6 separate regions of the Homo sapiens genome follow, and all the other regions are linked to region 6. Evidence: promoter capture Hi-C in human tissues and cell types (Jung and others, 2019). All regions are on one chromosome and are shown on one strand. Each heading gives the region's core, a stretch centred on a gene start or on the middle of the fragment in contact. The rest is flanking DNA. Distances are from core to core; before and after follow the strand shown.

Region 1 (3,534 bases), core at 1,032-3,531, 450 kb after region 6:
GGCCGAGGCAGGCAGATCACCTGAGGTCAGGAGTTTGAGACCAGCCTGACCAATATGGAGAAACCCTGTCTCTACTAAAAATATAAAATTAGCCAGATGTGGTGGCGCATGCCTGCAATCCCAGCTACTCAGGAGGCTGAGGTGGGAGAATTGCTTGAACCCGGAGGCAGAGGTTGCGGTGAGCCGAGATTGCACCATTGCACTTCAGTCTGGGCAACAGGAGCAAAACTCCATCTCAGAAAAAAAAAAAAGACAAACTCAGAAATAAACATCCTAACTCAGAAAAGCATGGTGTTGCCATAGAACTGACTGTGAGGAAACTAACAGCAATACTTTCTATATTGTGTTTAAACTTGCACATACAAATTTTGGGCTTTCTAGCTTCTCTTAGGATTTCTTTTATACTTTCTCTGGGGGAGGGGGTGTGGGTCTCACCATTGTTGATTTTTCCTTCATCATGGTAATGCGAACAGCTATTTTTGTCTGGAAGCTTTTATATGTATTTAAATCATTGCAGAAATCAACTACTTACTTGTTGCCATTTGTAAAAATATACAGAATCTGTATATAAACCCCTGACAATCAGTTAGTTTGATACATTGTGCCCTCTTTTAATATGTGTGGAAACAAATAAATAGAACATTGTTCCAGGAGCAGTTAATGTGAGGAGTGAGGGGTGGAGCATTTCATAAAATAGTAGTTTATCCTTCAGAGAGCAGTTTCTAGCATAATAGACTGTGGGAGTGTGTGTGTGTGTGTCTGTGTGTGTGCTTATTATTTTTTTTTAAGGAAACAGTATCATTTATGCATTAGGTTATACTCAGACGTCATTTTTTTCATTCATTTTCTAAACGTGCCCATTTGTCCTGGCAGAAAATGCTATAGTTTCTAGAAGTTGATTGAAGATTTCATTTCATCTATTGACATCTCATGTTCAGCTCCTTTCTATTTAGCCATGGCTACCAGCTTCTAGTTCATAACGCTTTTTTTTTTTTTTTTTTGAGATGGAGTTTTTTTTTTTCCTCGCTCTGTTGCCCAGGCTGGAGTGCAGTGGTGTGATGTCGGCTCACTGCAACCTCTGCCTGCCGGGTTCAAGCGATACTCCTGCCTCAGCTTCCTGAGGAGCCGGGATTACAGGAGCGTGCCACCACACCCGGCTAATTTTGCGTTTTTAGTAGAAACGGGGTTTCATCATGTTTGTCAGGCTGGTCTCAAACTCCCGACCTCAGGTGATCCACCCGCCTCAGCCTCCCAAAGTGCTGGGATTACAGGCGTGAGCCACCGCGCCCGGCCATAACGCTTTTAAGTCTAGTATTTTTACTTCATAAACATATGGAGAAAGGCTAATGTTTTCAAATTCAAAGTGTGATGTCTTGGCTTTTGATTGGAGCGTTTAATTCATTAACATTTAATGGCATAAGGAGGGAGCATTTCCACGCTGTGCAGAGGGGACAGGTATTTTGAGACCTCAGAGTAAAATTCTTAATTGTCCCTCCCTTATCACCAGCTTCTGATCCACCCCGGAGCTCCATTTTAGGAATCATTGCCTGGCTTCCCAGCTTGGGGATATGTTTGACCTCCTGAAAGGGGGTCTGCTTGTGAACTGTGAGTGCAGTAGGCTGCTTCTCTGAGCTTGTTCAAGTTTTTGCTTTTCTTCTCTTTTGATTCTTTATGAAATATTGCTGCCATATAATTCCAGTTTTTCCACATACTCAACTATTTTATTTTGTTGTCCTGTTTTTATCTTCTGGGCTGAAAATGAGTAGATTGAGAGATAAGGTGAGGGAAAGGCTTGGCAACGTCGCCAACAGCCTCATCCCAAATTCCTGATCCCTGGAGGACATCAGGCCCTCCCTCCTGCTGCAGGGTGGCCTGTGTGCCCCGGGCTCCCCTCCTGCTCCGAGGTCCGGGAATGGCTCCACTGGACAGGGAGCCTGGAATTCCCTGCACACACTTGTGAGTCCCTGTCCAGGAGGAAAAAGCAGGAAGAACCCACTGAATACAATCAGGAAATTCTAAAATGCAAACGTCACTTCGGGAGGGGTCAGGTCACTCCGTTGGGAGGAAGCCCGCCTTGCCAAGGGTCGTGCCTGGAACCTGTTCATCCGGCTCCACTCAGCACTGTGAGATCGCTTCTTCTGTCAATCAGCCACCAAGGGGCGGGACCTGGAGCACTATCCAATCAGGGATGAGGGGGCGGGGATTGTGAGAACTGTCAATCAGGCACGCTGCAGGGAGGAGGGTGCGACGTTCAAAGAGCCCGCGGAGTCTTCTCCACGCCCCTGCGCTCTGAGTCCTGGCTCTGGCGCTGAGAGAGAGACGCCCTGGAAGGTCTGTATCAGCGTCTGTCGCGCTGGGACCCACACTGGCTTTTAAGGAGGACACCCGGACACCTGGAAGCTGGGAAATGGTGAGTGTGCGGGGCCCGGCGTCCCGAGGCAAAGAAGGGGCAGGTTGGAACCGGCCGGAACCGACCGTGAGGGGACCCGGGCCTCGCCCTGGGCGACTCCGGGGTCTGCAAATCCCAGTGCCCCTGGCGCAGCTCTGCCCTTGGTCCCCTGGGCCGCAAGATGGGGCTGGGGCGGCAGCCGGGACCCCGGGCGTCCTGTCCCGTCCCTGCTCGGCCGCTGCGGCCCCGGCCCCGGCGCCCTCTCTGGGCAGCTCCGCGCCCGCAGCTCCGCGTCTCCCCAGATTGTGCAGTTGTAACCGGCACAGGTTCACGGCCCGAGTCACTGCACCGAGACGCCGAAGGCTGCAGCAGAAACAGTTTAATGGGGGAGAGGGGAGGACACCCCAGATCCGCCTCCCTGAGAGGTTTGGGGATGGGGTGTTTAGAGGTGTGGACAGGGACGGCTGGAGTGTGGGGTCGCTGGTTGGTGGAGAAGTGAGAGGTGACTCCTGGGACTGGAGGTGAAGAAACCGCATTCTGCTGAGTGGGTTCCCTTGTGGGGTCTTCAGCCTGGTTGGCGCCAGCCTTTCCGCTGCAATTCAGGATCCGAGAAAGAACTGAGGCGACCCGTGAGCAACTCTCAAGAGATCTTATCCCCGGGCACGATGAGGAAGCCGGCGGTCAGCGTCTGCTGTGACCTGACTCTCAGGGAGGCGGCCCCGTGAGGCAGCGGGGCTGAGGGCACCTGGTTAATATCTAACTGCAATCTCGCCTCCAGCCTGGCTCGCAGTTCCTGTGAACCCGGTGAGGACGCTGCACGGTGACAACGGAGGGTCACCAGGCAGAATCCAGACTCGTGTGTGTGGGCTTTGTGCTTTGGAAGAGAAGCTGTGATCTGTGGGTTCCCCAGTCCCTTCTTTCTTCCCAAAGGTGACCGGTTTCCCTCCGAGTCTTCCAAAGATGTGGGCAGCAGGGTCTCAAATCCACCACCCTATCCCCTCATCCTAACTCCTCCTAGGGCTGGCAGCAAATCTCTTGGTTTTCAGAGCCTTCCCCAGGCTAACTGTCTCTCATCAATTCCCAGCAACTTTATGAACTCTTTGTCCCTCAGGCAATATTTCAAACAGAGGCATTATTTTAATTGT
Region 2 (3,567 bases), core at 805-3,304, 380 kb after region 6:
GCTGGGATGGAATGAAGTGGCAGATAACAGACCCCCTTCCTTCAGCATTCCTTCCTACCTCCTCCAAACTTTAGACAAAGATTCAACACTCTCAACCAGCTGCCACCTACAGAATCCCTCAACTACCTGTGCCTTCTAACCCCCCTTCCACAGGTCCCACCCTTTCTGCCAATGGAACTTACACCTTCCAGGCACTGATTCATGATTTTCCCTGCAATTCCTGTCTCTCTGAAATGAATAAAACCAAACTGTCTTGAGCTGCCTCGGGACCACTTACTCCAGGCTGCTTGGGGTTGTGTTTCCCTCGGCCAACGGCTCTCCTATTCGGCTCCTAATAAACTTCTTTATTTTACATAGCTTGGCTTTTTCCGTTGACAAACCACAAGCCAGGACTGGGTGTTTCTCATTCGTGAATCGTTGTTGTTGTTTTGAGATGGAGTCTGGCTCTGTTGCCAGGCTGGAGTGACGCCGTCTTGGCTGACTGCAACCGCCGCCTCCTGGGTTCAAGCAATTCTTCTGCCTCAGCCTCTCAAGTAGCTGGGATTACAGGCACGCGCCACCATGCCCAGCTAATTTTTGTATTTTTAGTAGAGATGGGGTTTCACCATGTTGGCCAGGCTGGTCTTGAACTCCTGACTTCCTGATCCGCCCGCCTCGGCCTCCCAAAGTGCTGGGATTACAGGCGTGAGCCACCGCGCCCGGCCCTAAACTCTTTAATTGTTAACGTACCTCAGTTTAATTTTTAACAGAAAAAAGTGGGCACTGGGGACCCCAAAGACCGCTACTCCTCCCACACGAACCTGTCAGAGATGATAAATTACTTTTCTAAAAGCTTTAGTAAGCTGTTCTTTGTTTCTTGAGACCGACTTCCTTGTCTCCTAGCTACCTGTTCTGTAAACAACCTTCCCGCTTTTGCCGCGCCCAGACAAGTCCAGATACGCCTTCCCGCCTAGTAACGGACAGTCCCTGTTCCTTCCCGTCTCATAGACCCTATTTAATTTGTGTGTGTGTGTGTGTGTGTGTGTGTGTGTGTGTGTGTGTGACGGAGTTGCCCAGTTGTCTCGCTCTGTTGCCCAGGCTGGAGTACAGTGGTGCGATCTCGGCTCACTGCAAGCTCCACCTCCCGGGTTCACGCCATTCTCCTGCCTCAGCCTCCCGAGTAGCTGGAACTACAGGCGCCCGCCACCATACCCAGTTAATTTTTTTGTATTTTTAGTGGAGACGGGGTTTCACCGTGTTAGCCAGGGATGGTCTCGATCTCCTGACCTCGCGATCCGCCTGCCTCGGCCTCCCAAAGTGCTGGGGTTACAGGCGTGACCCACCGCGCCTGGCCAGACCCTATTTAATTTTAAACCTTAGCCTATCGAGTTAGTTTAGATTGTGAGGTCCAACCCTAGCCAATGAGGAAAGGACACAGAAGTGCTAGAAACTGCGTTAAGGAGAAAAACCCCTGCCCTACCCCGCTCGCTGTGCTCTTGTGACTGGCGCAAGCTGCACCCTTGTGTAGAAATAAATTTGCTTTGCTGAGGAATTTTCTGCCTAGATGCTGGTTTTCTTTGCGGCACCGGGCACTTGTTTCTAACAAACCCCATATCCGAGGCGGGATCCCCCCATATCCCTCCCGTGGCCCCCGCATAATGTGGGGAGACGCGGAGCTGCCCAGATTAGGCTCCGGAGCCGGGGCCGCAGTCGCCGTGAAGGGACGGGACAGGAGGCCCGGGGTCCCGGCTGCCGGCCCAGCCCCACCCTGCGACCGAGGGGACTCGCGTCCACGACCCCGGAGTCGCCGCGTGGAGGCCCGGGTCCCGCCTCAGCCGGTTCCGGCCGATTCCAGCCCCTCTCCCAGTCGCCCGGACGCCAGCCCCCTCACACACACCATTTCTCGGCTTCCAGGGTGTTCCGGCGTCCTCTGCGTGGCTCCCGCGACTAGTGTAGGTCACAGTGCAGGTTACAGAGCGACAGAAGCTCTGGTGGAGGCACCTAGTCCCTCTCGAAGCAAGAAAGCCGAGATCCTGACCGCTGTCGGCGCAGCACTAAAGGAATGGACGGAGGGCGACTGTCCCTTCCCCCTTCCCCGGATGGACAGTTGACAGGGCCCCGCCCCAGCACCCCTGATTGGATGGGGCGCCAGGCCCCGCCTCCTCCGTGCTGAGTGACAGCAGAAGCCCTGGGTAACCGGGTCCTGCAGATCATGTCTGACTTGTTCTGGCCACAGCGTCTCTGAGCGAGCAGCCTCTCTAAGCGAGCAGCCTCTCTAAGCGAACAGCCTCTCTAAGCGAGCGCCTTCCTTGAGCCCTGGTCATCAGATATTTGCATTTCAAGGCGACTTGCTCCTTATTGTTAGAAGAGGCACTGTTAGCTTCCTCATTCAAGGGGCTGTCCCTGCTCCTTCCTTCTGCACGGGATCACAAGTGTGTGCAGGGCATTTCAGACTCAGTGTTCAATGGAGAGATACGCTTGCCTCAGAGCAGGAGGGGAGCCCAGACCAGGCAAGGCACGACTGCACCAGGAGAGAGAGGCAGATGTCTTCCAGCGTGCGGGAAATGGGATGAGGCATGGCCAAGGCTTCCTCACACTGCTATGGACTCCAGCAAGGTTTTCCTTGTAAGGGAGCTAACCAAGCCAGAACTTATTAAAGATTTAGAGGCTCTCAGTACTATGTATATCTATCCCTGGTGCATTGACAGTGACTGAAGACCCATTTTTCAGGACATGCTGTGTAGGACTGAGCCAGGGAACATGATATAGCATGGCACTTTTATCTCACATATAACCCCCAAGGAGCAGGGTTAACTGAAATGAAAGATGGTCTCAGGGGAAGCTGTAAATGAGAAATTCTGTCATAGAAATTATGATTTAGGCAGGCCGGGCGCGGTGGCTCATGCCTGTAATCCCAGCACTTTGAGAGGCTGAGGCAGGTGGATCACGAGGTCAGGAGTTCAAGACCAGCCTGGCCAACATGGTGAAATCCTATCTCTACTAAAAATACAAAAATTAGCCAGGAATGGTGGCGCATGCCTGTAATCCCAGCTACTTGAAAGGCTGAGGCAGGAGAATTGCTTGAACCGGGAGGCAGAGTTTGCAGTGAGCCAAGATCGTGCCACTGCATTCCAGCCTGAGACACAGTGAGACTCCATCTCAAAAAAAAAAAAATTATGTTTTAGCCATCTTTTTTTGAGACGGGGTCTCACTCTGTCGCCCAAGCTGGAGTGCAGTGGTGCGATGGCTACTCAATGCAGCCTCAACCTCCCAGACTCAAGCAATCCTCCCACCTCAGCCTCCTAAGTAGGTGGGACTACAAGTGCCTGCCACCATGCCTGGCTAGTTTTTTATTTTTGGTAGAGATGAGGTCTCATTCGGTTGTTCAGGTTGATCTCAAACTCCTGAGCTTAAGTGATCCTCCAGCCTCAGCCTCCCAAAGTGTTGGGATTACAGGTGTGCGCCTGGCCTCTTGGGCATCTTCATTGCTCCACACCTTACAATGATAAATTCAATATTCTGTGAATATTTCCTGGAGAAATTAGCACAGCCATAACTTGTGATAAGGTAAATCAGGTGTTGAAATTT
Region 3 (3,270 bases), core at 275-2,774, 340 kb after region 6:
ATACAACAATTAGCTGGGGGTGGTGGTGCGTGCCTGTAATCCCAGCTACTCAGGAGGCTGAGGCAGGAGAATCCCTTGAACCCAGAAGGCAGAGGTTGCAGTGAGCCGAGATCGAGCCATTGCACACCAGCCTGGGCGACAGAAGGAGACTCCGTCTCAAACAAAAACAAAAACAAACAAAGTACCTTCCCAGCTAAGTGAAGTGACTGGCTCTTGGCCAAGGGAACCCCCAAAACACCCTGAAAATTGAGTGCCTCTGTATGACAGGATGGGAGGTGAGACAGGTCTCCTTATACCCTCTCCCTTTAGGAGTTTACATGCAGCAACTGACGCACATTCATGTAAAAACAGACATTCTCTGACTGGAAAAACAGACTCCTTGTGGCAACAAGATACCAAATTACAAACAAGACCTAAGGCCACGCAAGGCAAAGGTAAAGTTACGTCTTAGAATTCATAAAATCTAGAGAAACAGGACTGTTTTTTGGCTGGGATGGAATGAAGTGGCAGATAACAGACCCCCTTCCTTCAGCATTCCTTCCTACCTCCTCCAAACTTTAGACAAAGCTTCACACTCTCAACCAGCTGCCACCTACAGAATCCCTCAACCACCTGTGCCTCCTAACCCCCCTTCCACAGGTCCCACCCTTTCTGCCAATGGAATTTACACCTTCCAGCCTTGATCCATCATTTTCCCTGCAATTCCTGTCTCTCTGAAATGAATAAAACCAAACTGTCCTGAGCCGCCTCCGGACCACTTACTCCAGGCTGCTTGGGGTTGTGTTTCCCTCGGCCAAGGTCTCTCCTACTCGGCTCTGAATACACTTCTGTATTTTACATAGTCTGTTTTTTTTCCGTTGACAAACCACAAGCCAGGACCGGGTGTTTCTCATTCGTGAATGGCTGTTTCCTCAAATGAACTTTTTGTTAACGTACCTCAGTATAATTTTTAACAGGAGAAAGTGGAGGCTGTGGGCCCCACAGACCGCTGCTCCTCCTACGGACGAAATCCACACCCGAGTCGAAATCCGCGCATGACCCTCCCGTGGCCCCCGCACAAGCTGGGGCGTCGGGCTGCGGGCGCGGAGCTGCACAAAAGGGCTTCGGGGCCAAGGCCGCAGTCGACGGGCAGGGACGGGACAGGACGCCCGGAGTCCCGGCTGCCGGCCCACCCACATCCAGCGGCCGCGGGGACCGAGGGCCGAGCAGCTCTAGGAGGACTCGGTCCCAGACCCCGGAGTCGCCCACAGGGAGGCCCGGGTCCCGCCAGTTCCAGGCAGCCCCTCCCCCATCGCACCACTCCCGGCCAGCACACGCACCATTTCCCGGCTTTCAGATGTACCGGGGTCCTCTCTACAGCTCCTGTGAGTAAAGCAGGGCATAGCGCAGGTGACAGAGCGACAGAAATCTGGGTAGAGGCACTAGGTCCCTCTCGGGGCTGGAAAGGCCAGATCCCAACCGCCGCCCTCGCAGCGACAAAGGTGACGGCAGGAATGCAACATCCTCCGTGCCTGGATGCACAGTGGGCAGGGCCCCGAGCCAGTGCCTCTGATTGGATGGAATGTTCGGCCCCGCCCCCCACGTCTAAGTGACAGCGGAAGCCCTGGGTATCAGGCCCTGCGGAGCCAGACTGACAGATTCTAGCAACAGCTTCTCTAAGCTTACACGAGCTGCTTCCTGCACTCGGGTTATTGGATAGTTGCATTTCAGCCAAACTTGCTATTGTTAGAAGAGAACACTAGCGTCTTCCTCACTCAAAGGACTGTCCCCGCTCCTTCGTTCTGCACGGGGTCACAGGAGTGTGCAGGGAATTTCAGACTCAGTGTCCACAGGAGCCATCTCCTGCCTCAGAGCAGCAGGGGAACCGAGACCAGGCCAGGCAAGACTGCACCAGGAGGAGAGGCATATTTCCTCGAGCGGGCCGGAATTGGGGATGAGGCATGGCCAAGACTTGCTCACACACCCCCATCCCCTCCTCACAGTATGAAAATGCTCCGTCCTTCCAGATCTTCATTTTCACCTGCAGGAAACTCTCACCTGGGGTTAAGCTTCGGACCTAAATAAACTGTCAACCTCATAAACCTTTTATCCAGGTGACGCCACCAAACAATTGTGTCTCTAGCCTGATTTTCACACATTTTCTTTATATATACAAATAACTCTGACTCCAGCGACCCCATGTATGTCAAACCCCAAACCCTGCCCAGAAGACAGCCCCAGGCTCCAGAGGTACAACACCAGAAAGGACAGAACCCCACAAATGCGTCTGCACGAAGGTCTTCTGCTTTCCAGGGCCCTACAGCTTCTCGGAATCCACACTCCTTCTGGAGCTGCTCTGAGCAGCTGGAGGCCACCTGTAGGGGAGGGCGGGCTGCCCAGGAAGCCCCCAGGAAAAGCTCCTTTCCCTTCCTTTGCAGGCTCCAGACTGGCCTCAGCGTGGAGTCACTGGCCTCGGGCTCTGCTGCCCCTGCAGGTTATTCAGCTACTTCTCACCCCATTGATCAGTTCCATGACACAAACACCCTCAATCCCATTGTGTGAATAAGACACCAGCAGAGTCCCTGCTCTCCTCCTATGTTTATGTATAAAGTGGGGAAGGAAAATTCTAAGATAACTTAAGTACATTTAAAAGACTTCCAGATCGCGGTGGAGGTGGCAGCGGAGGGACCCACGGTCACTGACACTGCAGCACCTCCAGGCCTGTCTGGTCAGAGAAAGGGTGGAAAGCTGGAGATGGATGTGGATACGTGGAGGGAGCAGCCCTGGGAACTGGGCTCTGCAGCAGCGCGGCTCTAGGGCCTGGAGCCCGGGAGAGCACAGATGGGGGCTCCTGGGACAGGATGCTCAAAGAAGAGTCAGGTGGCTTCCATGAAATGGGGTGCTATGGCAGCTGGTGAGGGCCTGTGGCTATCATAATTTGGGACGTGAAAACTTGGATTCCGTGGGAATTTATGAAGAGGAAGGCTCTGATGACAAAGAAGTCATCGATGAGGAGGGGGATGAGGGTCACTGGCAAGCTCGCTTCCTTATGGAAAGAAAAGTGAACACCCAACTACTGCTGCAAAATGGGGTGAAAGGATGAGACTCTCACTGTCAGGGAATAAACTGCTGCAGAACTCTTAGAGATTGCAAAGACCTTTCAACAACAGCCTGGGAGGCCGGGTGCCATGGCTTACACCTGCAATCCCAACATTTTAGGAGGCCAAAGTGGGAGGATCACTTGAAGCCCGAAGTTGAAGACCACCCTGAGCAGTGAAGTGAGACACTCCC
Region 4 (3,141 bases), core at 604-3,103, 300 kb after region 6:
GGGGCAGGCCCCCTTCAGGTGCGTGCCTGTAATCCCAGCTACTCAGGAGGCTGAGGCTAGAGAATTGCTTGAATCCGGAAGGTGGAGGTTGCAGTGAGCCGAGATTGAGCCATTGCACTCCAGCCTGAGTGACAGAAGGAGACTCTGTTTTAAATAAAAACAAAAACAAAGTACCTTCCCAGGTAAGTGAAGTGACCGGCTCTTGGCCAAGGGAACCCCCAAAAAACCCTGAAAATTGAGTGCCTCTGTATGACAGGATGGGAGGTGAGACAGGCCTCCTTATACCCTCTCCCTTTAGGAGTTTACATGCAGCAACTGACGCACATTCATGTAAAAACAGACATTATCTGACTGGAAAAACAGACTCCTTGTGGCAAGAAGATACCAAATTACAAACAAGACCTAAGGCCACGCAAGACAAGGGTAAGTCACACCTTAGAATTCATAAAATCTAGAGAAACAGGTCTGTTTTTTGGCTGGGATGGAATCAAGTGGCAGATAACAGACCCCCTTCCTTCAGCATTCCTTCCTACCTCCTCCAAACTTTAGACAAAGCTTCACACTCTCAACCAGCTGCCACCTACAGAATCCCTCAACCACCTGTGCCTTCTAACCCCCCTTCCACAGGTCCCGCCCTTTCTGTTTTTTGTTTTTGTTTTTGTTTTGAGACAGAGTCGCACTCTGTGCTGAGGCTGGAGTGCAGTGGCACTGTGTGGGCTCACTGCAACCTGTCTCCTGGATTCAAGTAATTCTCTTGTCTCAGCCTCCCGAGTAGCTGGGATTACAGGCGTCCACCATCACGCCCGGCTAGTTTCTTTTTTATATTTTTAGTAGAGACGGGGTTTCACCATGTTGGCCAGGCTGGTCTTGAACTCCTGACCTCAGGTGATCCGCCCGCCTTGGCCTCCCAAAGTGCTGGAATTACAAGCGTGAGCCACCGTGCCCGGCCAGGTCCCTCCCTTTCTGCCTAAGGAAATTACACCTTCCAGGCACTAATTCATGATTTTCCCTGCAATTCCTGTCTCTCTAAAATGAATAAAACCAAACTGTCTTGAGCCGCCTCGGGACCACTTACTCCAGGCTTCTTGGGGTTGTTTTTCCCTCGGCCAAGGTCTCTCCTATTCGGCTCCGAATAAACTTCTTTATTTTACATAGTTTGGCTTTTTCCGTTGACAAACCACAAGCCAGGACTGGGTGTGTCTCATTCGTGAATCGCTGTTTGCTCAAATGAACTCTTTGTTAACGTTCCTCAGTTTAATTTTTAACAGGAGAAAAAGTGGACACTGGGGGCCCCACAGACCGCTGCTCCTCCCAAGCACGAACCCCACACCCGAGTCGGGATCACCCACATGACCCTCCCGTGGCCCCCGCACAATCTGGGTAGACGCGTGGCTGCGGGCGCGGAGCTGCCCATAGAGGGCTCTGGAACCGCAGTCGCCGCGCAGAGACGAGACAGGACGCCTGGTGTCCCGGCTACCGGCCCAGCCACACCGAGCAGTCGAGGGGACCGAGGGCCGAGCGGCTCCAGGAGGACTCGGTCCCAGATCCCAAAGTCGCCCGCAGGAAAGCCAGGGTCTCGCCACAGTCGGTTCCGGTCGGTCCAGGCAGCCCCTCCCCCGTCTCACGACACCCGGCCCCAGACACGCACCATTTCCTGGCTTTCAGATGTCCCGGGGTCCTCTCTACACCTCCTGTGACTACAGCAGGGCATAGCGTAGGTGACAGAGTGACAGAAGCCTGGGCAGAGGAACCAGGTCCCTCTCGGGGCTGGAAAGACCGGATCCCAGCCGCAGCCCGCGCAGGGACAAAGGTGAGGTAAGGAATGCGACCCCCTCAGTGTCTGGAGGAACAGTGGGCAGGGACCCGCCACAATGCCTCTGATTGGATGGAATGCTAGGCCCCGCCCCCCATGTCTGAGTGACAGCGGAAGCCCTGGGTATCGGGCCCTGCAGAGCCAGACAGACGGATTCTGACCACAGCTTTTCCAAGGGCGAGCTCCTTCCTGCACTCTGGTTATTGGATATTTGCATTTCAGCCAAACTTGCTATTGATAGAGGAGAACACTAGCGTCTTCCTCACTCAAGGGACTGTCCCTGCTCCTTCGTTCTGCATGGGGTCACAGGAGTGTGCAGGGAATTTCAGATTCAGTGTCCACAGGAGCCATCTCCTGCCTCAGAGCAGCAGGGGAACCGAGACCAGGCCAGACACGACTGCGCCAGGAGGAGAGGCATATGTCTTGGAGCGGGCCGCAACTGGGGATGAGGCATGGCTAAGACTTGCTCTCACACCCCCATCCCCTCCTCACAGTGTGAAAATGCTTCCTCCTTCCAGATCTTCATTTTCACCAGCAGGAAACTCTCTCCAGGGGTTAAGTTAAGCTTTTGACCTAAATAAACTGCCAACTTCATGAACCCTTTATCCAGGTGACGCTCCCAAACATTTCTGTCTCTAGCCTGATCTTCACACATTTTCTTTTCTTTTTTTTTTGAGACAGAGCCTCGCTCTGTCCCCCCAGGCTGGAGTGCAGTGGTGCAATCTCCACTCACTGCAACCTCCGCCTCCTGGGTTCAAGTGATTCTCCTGCCTCAGCCTCCCCAGCAGCTAGGATTACAGGCACATGCCACCGCGCCTGGCTAATTTTTTGTATTTTTAGTAGAGACAAGGTTTCACCATGTTGACCAGACTGGTCTTGAACTCCTGACCTCAAGTGATCCACCCGCCTCGGCCACCCAAAGTGCTGGGATTACAGGCGTGAGCCACCGCGCCTGGCCCACATTTTCTTTATATATATGAATATCTCTGTCGGATATAAAATGCTTTAGGAATAAATTCTTGGTCCCACGAAGTAAAACTAGCACTTAGGGGAAAGTTTCATTTGTTTAGCAAGGCAATTTACTTCTGCAGAAGTGTGCCACTTGTGTCAATCAAGATCACAAGAGCACAGAGAACAAAGGTCACCGGGGGTTTTTTTATCCTTAATGCGGTCCCTATCTCTGTGTCACTCCTTCATGGGCTGGGGTTCGACCACACAATCTGAGCTGACCCGACTGGCTACTTGTACGTATTTTTCTAAATATAGAAGGAGAGGGGAACGTGAGGTACAGAGATGGAGCGTGTGAGACGTGCAGTTTCGGGGGAACA
Region 5 (3,330 bases), core at 206-2,705, 420 kb after region 6:
TCTGTCTAGGGATGATGAAGGGAGGACAGTAACAAAGATTTTATTTATTAATATTCATTTTTTTTACAGCGAAATGTCTGGTGGTTTTTCTCTGCTTCCTCTCATGTGAAATGTTCACAAACACAAAACCTTTTACAAAGAGCCATATATTGCTATGTATAAACAAAATGACAATTAAAATACTAGCCTCTGTTTGAAAAATAAACTGGGGGACAAGGAGTTCATAAAGTTGCTGTGAATTGAGGAGAGAAAGCCTGAGGAAGGCTCTGGAAGCCAAGGGATTTTCTGTCGGCCCTAGGAGGAGTTAGGATGAGAGAACACAGTGGTGGACTTGAGACCCTGCTGCCCACATCTTTGGAAGACTCGAAGGCGAACGGGTCACCCTTGGGAAGAAAGAAGGGACAGGGGACCACACAGACCACAACTCCTCCCACACACAAACCCCACACACGAGTCTGCCTGGTGACCTGTCATCACCGTGCAGCCTCCTCACCGGGTTCACAGAACTGCGAGCCAGGCTGGAGGCGAGATTGCAGTTAGATATTAACCAGGTGCCCTCAGCCCCGCTGCCTCGCGGGGCCGCCTCCCCAAGAGTCAGGCCACAGCAGATGCTGACCGCCGGCTTCGCCATTGTGCTTGGGGATGAGATCTCTGAGAGTTGCTCAAGAGTCGCCTGAGTTCTTTCTCAGATCCTGAATTCCAGCGGAAAGGCTGGCGCCAACCAGGCTGAAGACCCCACAAGGGAACCCACTCAGCAGAAGAATGCGGTTTCTTCACCTCCAGTCCCAAGAGTCACCCCTCACTTCCCCACCATCCAGCGACCCCACGCCCCAGCCGCCCCTGTCCACACCCCTAAACACCCCATCCCCAAACCTCTCAGGAAGGCGGATCTGGGGTGTCCTCCCCTCTCCCCCTATTAAACTGTTTCTGCTGCAGCCCTCGGCGTCTCGGTGCAGTGACTCGGGCCGCGAACCTGTGCCGGTTACAGCCGCACAATCTGGGGAGACGCAGGACTGCGGGCGCGGAGCTGCCCAGACAGGCCTCCAGGGCCAGGGCCGCAGTGGCCGCGCAGGGACGGGACAGGACGCCCGGGGTCCCGGCTGCCGCCCCAGCCCCATCGTGCGGCCGAGGGAACCGAGGGCCGAGCTGCGCCAGGGTGTCGCCGGCGGGGAAGACCTGGTGCCACCACAGCCGGTTCCGGCCGGTTCCAACCAGTCTCTCCTCTCACGCGTCGGGACACCAGACCTCACACACTCACCATTTCCCGGCTTCCGGCGTCCAGGTTCCTCCCTCTGCCTCCCGCTGTCAGTGCGGGTCCCAGCGAGACAGAAGCTGCCACAGACGTTCCAGGGCGTCTCTCAGTGACAGAACCCGGAGCCCAGTGCAGGGGCGTGGAGAAGACTCGGCGGGCTCTTTGAACCTTGCACCCTCCTCCGGTCAGTGCGCCTGATTGACAGTTCTCACGACCCCGCCCCGCGGCCCTGATTGGATAGTGCGCCAGGTCCCTCCCCCGGGCACTGAGTAACGGAAGAAGCGATCTCGGGCAGCGGAGTGGAACCTGATAAACAGATTCCAGACAGGCCTTGAGAGGACTAGCTTCCTCCCTGCGCTGTGACCTGACCCCCTCCCAGGGGACATTTGCATTTAGGCAGTATGTCCTGACCTTCCTCCTTTTTCCTCTTGGACAGGGACCCACAAGTCTGTGCAGGAAATTCCAGACTCACTGTCCAGTGGAGCTATCCCCTGATTTGAGAGCAGGAAGGGAGCCCAGGCCACACTGCAGCAGAAGGGAGGGGCTGATGTCCTCCAGGAATCAGGAGTTTTGGATGAGGCTGTTGGCTGCACAGGCCAAGCCTTTCTCCCACCTTATGTCTCAATCTACTAATTTTCAGTGCAGAATATAAAAACACCCCAACAAAGCCGGGCGTGGTGGCTCACACCTGTAATCCCAGCACTTTGGGAGGCTGAGGCAGGTGGATCACCTGAGGTCAGAAATTCGAGACCAGTCTGGCCAACATGGTGAAATCCCGTCTCTAAAATACAAAGATTAGCCGGATGTGGTGGCGCACGCCTGTAGTCCCAGCTACTCAGGAGGCTGAGACAGAGGAATCACTTGAACCTGGAAGGCAGAGGCTGCAGTGAGAGAGTGGGCGAGACAGAGGGAGACTCCGTCTCAAAAAAAAAAAAAAAGAAAAAAGAAAAAAGAAATAAATAAAATTGTTAAATGTGTGGAAAAACTGGAATTATATGGCGGCAATATTTTATAAAGCAAAAACTTGAACTAGCTCAGATAAGCAGCCTGCTGCATCCACACACAGTTCACAAGTCAACCACTTTCAGGAGGCCAAACATATTCCAAAGCTTGGAGGCCAGACGATAATTCCTGAAATGGAGCCCTAGGGTGGATCAGAACCTGGGGATGAGTCAGGGGCACTAATGGATTTAACTCTGGGAGTTCAATTTGCCCTCCTGTCTCCTAAACACAGCGTGGAAATGCTCCTTCCATCAAGCCTATAAATGTTATTGAATTAAATGCTTCAATCAAAGGCTGAGACATTAGACTTTGAATTTGAAAACATTCATCTTCATATTTTTATGAAGAATACCAGATATAAAAGCATTATGAGGCCAGGCACCGTGGCTCATGCCTGCAATCCCACCACTTTGGGAGGCTGAGGTGGGTGGATTGCTTGAGCTCAGGAGCTCAAGACCGGCCTGGGCAATGTGGTGAAACCCCCATCTCTATTTAAAAACAAACAAAAAAAAAGCGTTATTAACTGGGAGCTGGCACCCATGGTGATACGAAGAAAAAGAGGTTTAATTGACTCACAGTTCAGCATGGCTGGGGAGGCCTCACAATCATGGTGGAAGGCAAAGGAGGAGCAAAAGCAAATGTTACATGGCGGCAGGCAAGAGAGCGTGTGCAGGGGAACTGCCCTTTATAAAGCCATCGGATCTCATGAGACTTACTCACCCAAATCTCATTTTGAATTGCAGCTCCCATAATCCCCACATGTCATGGGAGTGATCCAGTGGGAGGTAATTGAATCATGGAGGCGGTTTTCCCATGCTGTTCTCGTGATAGTGAATAAGTCTCATGAAATCTGATGGCTTTATAAAGGGCAGTTTCCCTGTACATGCTCTCTTGCCTGCCGCCATGTAACATTTGCCTTTGCTCCTCCTTAGCCTTCCACCAACACCTGACCAAATGGATATGACATCTACAGAACTTTCCACCCAAAACCAACAGATTATACATTCTTCTCCTCACCACATGGCACATACTCTAAAATCAGTAACATAATCAGACATAAAATAACCCTCAGCAAA
Region 6 (3,605 bases), core at 501-3,000:
CTACTAAAAATACAAAAAATTAGCCGGGCGTAGTGGTGGGTGCCTGTAGTCCCTGCTACTCGGGAGGCTGAGGCAGGAGAATGGCGTGAACCCGGGAGGCGGAGCTTGCAGTGAGCTGAGATTGCGCCACTGCACTCCAGCCTGGGTGACAGAGCAAGACTCCGTCTCAAAAATAAAAAGAATTACCAAGGGTAGAATTAAGTTCACCTCTTCACTATATCAAATACAGAGAAATTTTTTGCTTCCTTAAATAGGAATCAAGCAACCAAAAAGCAGCATAAGTTCTGCAATAAATTCTTTTAAATACCCTCTTATTGATACACCTTACAGTCATTACTGGTTTGTGGTGGTATTTATTATTTTTTTATTTTTTGAGAGAGTCTCACTCTGTTGCCCAGGCTGGAGTGCAGTGGCGTGCTTGGCTCACTGCAACCTCCACTCCCAAGTAGCTGGGATTACAGATGTGCACCACCACACCAGGCTAATTTTTGTATTTTTAGTAGAGACAGGGTGTTGCTATGTTGTCCAGGCTGGTCTCCAATTCCTGGCCTCAAGTGATCTGCCCGCATTGGCCTCCCAAAATGCTGGGATTACAGGGTGAGCCACCGCGCCCGGCCTGTGGTAGTATTTATTACCACAATTTATTACACCCTGCTTGACAACAGGGACGTCCCTGATAGTCCTTGGAAAGAAATCACTCACAACATGATTTGACTTTTGGTATTATGCATATGAAAAACTACTATCATCATAAAAGTTGTAATCAAATAAGCATGAAAACTAAAATTTATGAGGAAAAAAAGGCCTGAAGTTGTAAGCTCACAGTAATATTGACTCACAATGTTGGACAAATAGCTTAATTATAAAGTTTATCGGATCCATGATTGGAATGGGATATTTTAATATATATTCTCAATAAATACAAAACTCACCAGACAGTATGCAAGTTGCTTGCATACTGTTAATATTTCTAAGAAATGTGTAGAGAACTTTTGTTTGAGGAGGACATGTATATTGTTTGTAATCATATGTACTCAAACATAATTCAAAATAAACTGAGGGACTGCATTCAGCTATGAGTAACAGGAAACACCCACAATGTTTCTATAATGAATAAGGTGCTTATTCTCACATGAAAGAACGGGGTGAGACCCATCTCTGCATAATGCAGCAGAGGAACAAGCTCCATGTAGGGTTTTTCGTTTTGTTTTTGGATAGTGCCATTGTAGCTCTCAACCTGCATCAGTAACACTCACTGTCCCTATGGACAAAAATGTTTATGTACAAACTGGACCGTACAGGAACCAAGTCAGATCATCAGACTATTCCCAACAATGACAATATGAACTGATTACTTGGCAGATATATTAGGGCCTTCAGGAATATCCAAATGGCAGCTGAATCTTTGATATGAAGCTTTTAAAAACATCTATGGAAATCCATAACTTTGAGAACATGGAGGTGAAGTAGCTAGTGGTGGATTAGAGGATACTCTTTTTTTTTTTTTTTTTTTTTTTTTTGAGACAGGGTCTTACTCTGTACTCTGTCACCCAGGCTGGAGTGCAGTGGCATGATCTTGGCTCACTGCAACCTTCACCTCCCTGGCTCAAGCGATTCTCCTGCCTCAGCTGGGACTATAAGCACGCGACACCACACCCAGCTAATTTTTGTATTTTTAGTAGAGATGGGGTTTCACCATGTTGACCACGCTGGTCTCGAACTCCTCACCTCAGGTGATCCGACCGCCTTGGCCTCCCAAAGTGCTAGAATTACAGGTGTGAGCCAGCACACCCGGCTGAGGATACTCTTGATTGGCAGGGCAAAGAATCAGGAAAATGGGCTAGATGACCATGTCCAAACAGCCCATATGCATCTGTCTCTCCGTATGATGCCTCCAAAATCTGACTAATGCGTTCTTCACTTCTGCATTCTAAACTTCCAGGAATTTAGGCTATTGATGCAGTCTACAGGTAACCATGAAAGAAAGAAATTCTGGGCCAGGCACAGTGGCTTATGCCTGTAATCCTAGTGCTTTAAGAGGCTGAGGCTAGAGGGTGACTTGAGGCCAGGAGTTTGAGACCAGTCTGGGCAACATAGCAAGACACCATCTCTACAAAAAAAAAAAAAGATGAAAAACCAAAAATAAAAAGATTAGCTGGGCTTGGTGGCACATACCTATAGTTCCAGCCATTTGGGAGGCTGAGGTCGGAAGGCCACCTGAGCTCCAGAGTTTGAGGTTACAGTGAGCCACAGTCGTGCCACTGCACTCCAGCCTGAGTGACAGAGTGAGACCCTATTTCAGAAAGAAAGAAAGAAATGAAGTCTGAAAAGTTTAGTTCCCATTACCCAGATTGACATGACACAATCCATGAAAGGCATCTCCCATTTTAGATTTTATTATTCTATCATAGCTGTCTCCTTATCCCAAAATCAATTATACAAAGAGCAGCCAGAATAAATAACAAGGAGTAAAGAACAACAGGTTAAAATAATAATTCACGAGACTACAGTCTGTGATAAACTTTACATACTTAGAATTAACAACAACTCTTTAATAGGAAGCAAAATAAAATTATTTGAGCCAAGAAAAAAAAAATGGGCTAGGTGTGATGGCTCACACGTGTAATCCCAGACTTTAGGAGGCTGAGGTGGGTGGATCACTTGAGGTCAGGAGTTCTACCAGCCTGGCCAACATGGTGAAACCCCATCTCTACTAGAAATACAAAAAATTAGCCAGGTGTGGTGGCACATGCCTGTAGTCCCAGCTTCCTAGGAGGCTAAGGTGGGAGAATCACTTGAACCCAGAAGGCAGAGGTTGCAATGAGCCGAGATCATGCCACTGTACTCCAGCTTGGGCAACAGAGCACAGAGCGAGACCCTGTCTCAAAAAGAAAAAAGAAGAAAGAAAAAAGAAAAAAGGAAAAAAAAGGAGCTGTTCCAATAAATATGATGGAATGTATATAATGTGGAAAGGGAATCAAGAACCTGCTAAATGAAGCAAGTAGGTTCATACCAACATTTATTAAGACTTATTTTTCAGTGGTCCTCAATCACAGAACAATTAAGCAACCATATACAATTTAACATACCTGAATATGAGAAACACATTTAAATTCATTGTTGGATTAAACACATTTCAAAATGGAAAGACAAATATTTTATTTACTGACCTAAAACAACACTACCTATGAAATTCATGCACTATTGCTTTCAGATTACTTACAGGATTATATCAATTTAACATTTCTTTGTGAGATTAAGCATTTGAAATCCATAGTCAGAGAACTATTTTAAATATGAGCCACTAATTAACAAAATATACATATAGCTTCTACATTTCCATCAGGTTATGTATTTTCTAGAGACTACATGACCCGCTATGCATGAGGCTTTTTGAAGTACTTACATTTATAGGATTTTGCTGTATTAGAAGTTTTCAAATGACTTTTTTTTTTTTTCTGAGATGAGGTCTTGCTATGTTTTGCACACTGGTCTCAAACTCCTGACCTCAAGTGATCCTCCTGCCTCAGCCTCCCAAAGTGCTGGGATTACAGGTGTGAGCCACCACACCCAGCCAGAGCCAAAACATCTGTTCAAATTCAATA

Evidence for each region. Contacts are between HindIII fragments. The study calls those that stand out against the background at their distance.
Region 1: the fragment with the promoter of ZNF823 here is called in contact with a fragment that was not itself captured in region 6 in 8 of the 25 tissues and cell types used here (IMR-90 fibroblasts, bladder, dorsolateral prefrontal cortex and 5 more).
Region 2: the fragment with the promoter of ZNF440 here is called in contact with a fragment that was not itself captured in region 6 in 6 of the 25 tissues and cell types used here (H1 embryonic stem cells, aorta, bladder and 3 more).
Region 3: a contact is called between the fragment with the promoter of ZNF439 here and a fragment that was not itself captured in region 6, in 7 of the 25 tissues and cell types used here (H1 embryonic stem cells, aorta, dorsolateral prefrontal cortex and 4 more).
Region 4: the fragment with the promoter of ZNF69 here is called in contact with a fragment that was not itself captured in region 6 in 4 of the 25 tissues and cell types used here (dorsolateral prefrontal cortex, hippocampus, lymphoblastoid cells and 1 more).
Region 5: the fragment with the promoter of ZNF441 here is called in contact with a fragment that was not itself captured in region 6 in 1 of the 25 tissues and cell types used here (dorsolateral prefrontal cortex).

The regions. Positions count from the first base shown.
Region 1 is chr19:11,737,693-11,741,226 of GRCh38, reverse strand. It overlaps ZNF823 (zinc finger protein 823), which reads left to right and starts at 2,281. Exons shown (of 4, transcript NM_001080493.4): 1 at 2,281-2,410. The coding sequence starts at 2,408. RefSeq lists silencers at 2,103-2,297, 2,558-2,707 and enhancers at 2,308-2,387, 2,778-2,907. The HindIII fragment of the contact is 18,648 bases long and covers 1-3,534 here.
Region 2 is chr19:11,812,760-11,816,326 of GRCh38, reverse strand. It overlaps ZNF440 (zinc finger protein 440), which reads right to left and starts at 2,054. Exons shown (of 4, transcript NM_152357.3): 1 at 1,877-2,054. The coding sequence starts at 1,879. RefSeq lists silencers at 1,650-1,719, 2,140-2,219. The HindIII fragment of the contact is 18,958 bases long and covers 1-3,567 here.
Region 3 is chr19:11,846,980-11,850,249 of GRCh38, reverse strand. It overlaps ZNF439 (zinc finger protein 439), which reads right to left and starts at 1,524. Exons shown (of 4, transcript NM_001348719.2): 1 at 1,320-1,524. The coding sequence starts at 1,382. The HindIII fragment of the contact is 2,018 bases long and covers 1-1,854 here.
Region 4 is chr19:11,886,494-11,889,634 of GRCh38, reverse strand. ZNF69 (zinc finger protein 69) reads right to left here and starts at 1,853. Exons shown (of 4, transcript NM_001364730.1): 1 at 1,649-1,853. The coding sequence starts at 1,711. RefSeq lists an enhancer at 1,607-1,656. The HindIII fragment of the contact is 10,336 bases long and covers 1-3,055 here.
Region 5 is chr19:11,765,125-11,768,454 of GRCh38, reverse strand. It overlaps ZNF441 (zinc finger protein 441), which reads right to left and starts at 1,455. Exons shown (of 4, transcript NM_152355.3): 1 at 1,259-1,455. The coding sequence starts at 1,261. RefSeq lists silencers at 425-534, 985-1,124 and an enhancer at 1,195-1,294. The HindIII fragment of the contact is 15,674 bases long and covers 1-3,330 here.
Region 6 is chr19:12,188,647-12,192,251 of GRCh38, reverse strand. It overlaps ZNF136 (zinc finger protein 136), which reads right to left. Exons shown (of 4, transcript NM_003437.5): 4 at 2,381-3,605. Among named protein-coding and RNA genes, the nearest start is that of ZNF136, 27 kb to the right of the region's middle. The HindIII fragment of the contact is 7,748 bases long and covers 1-3,605 here.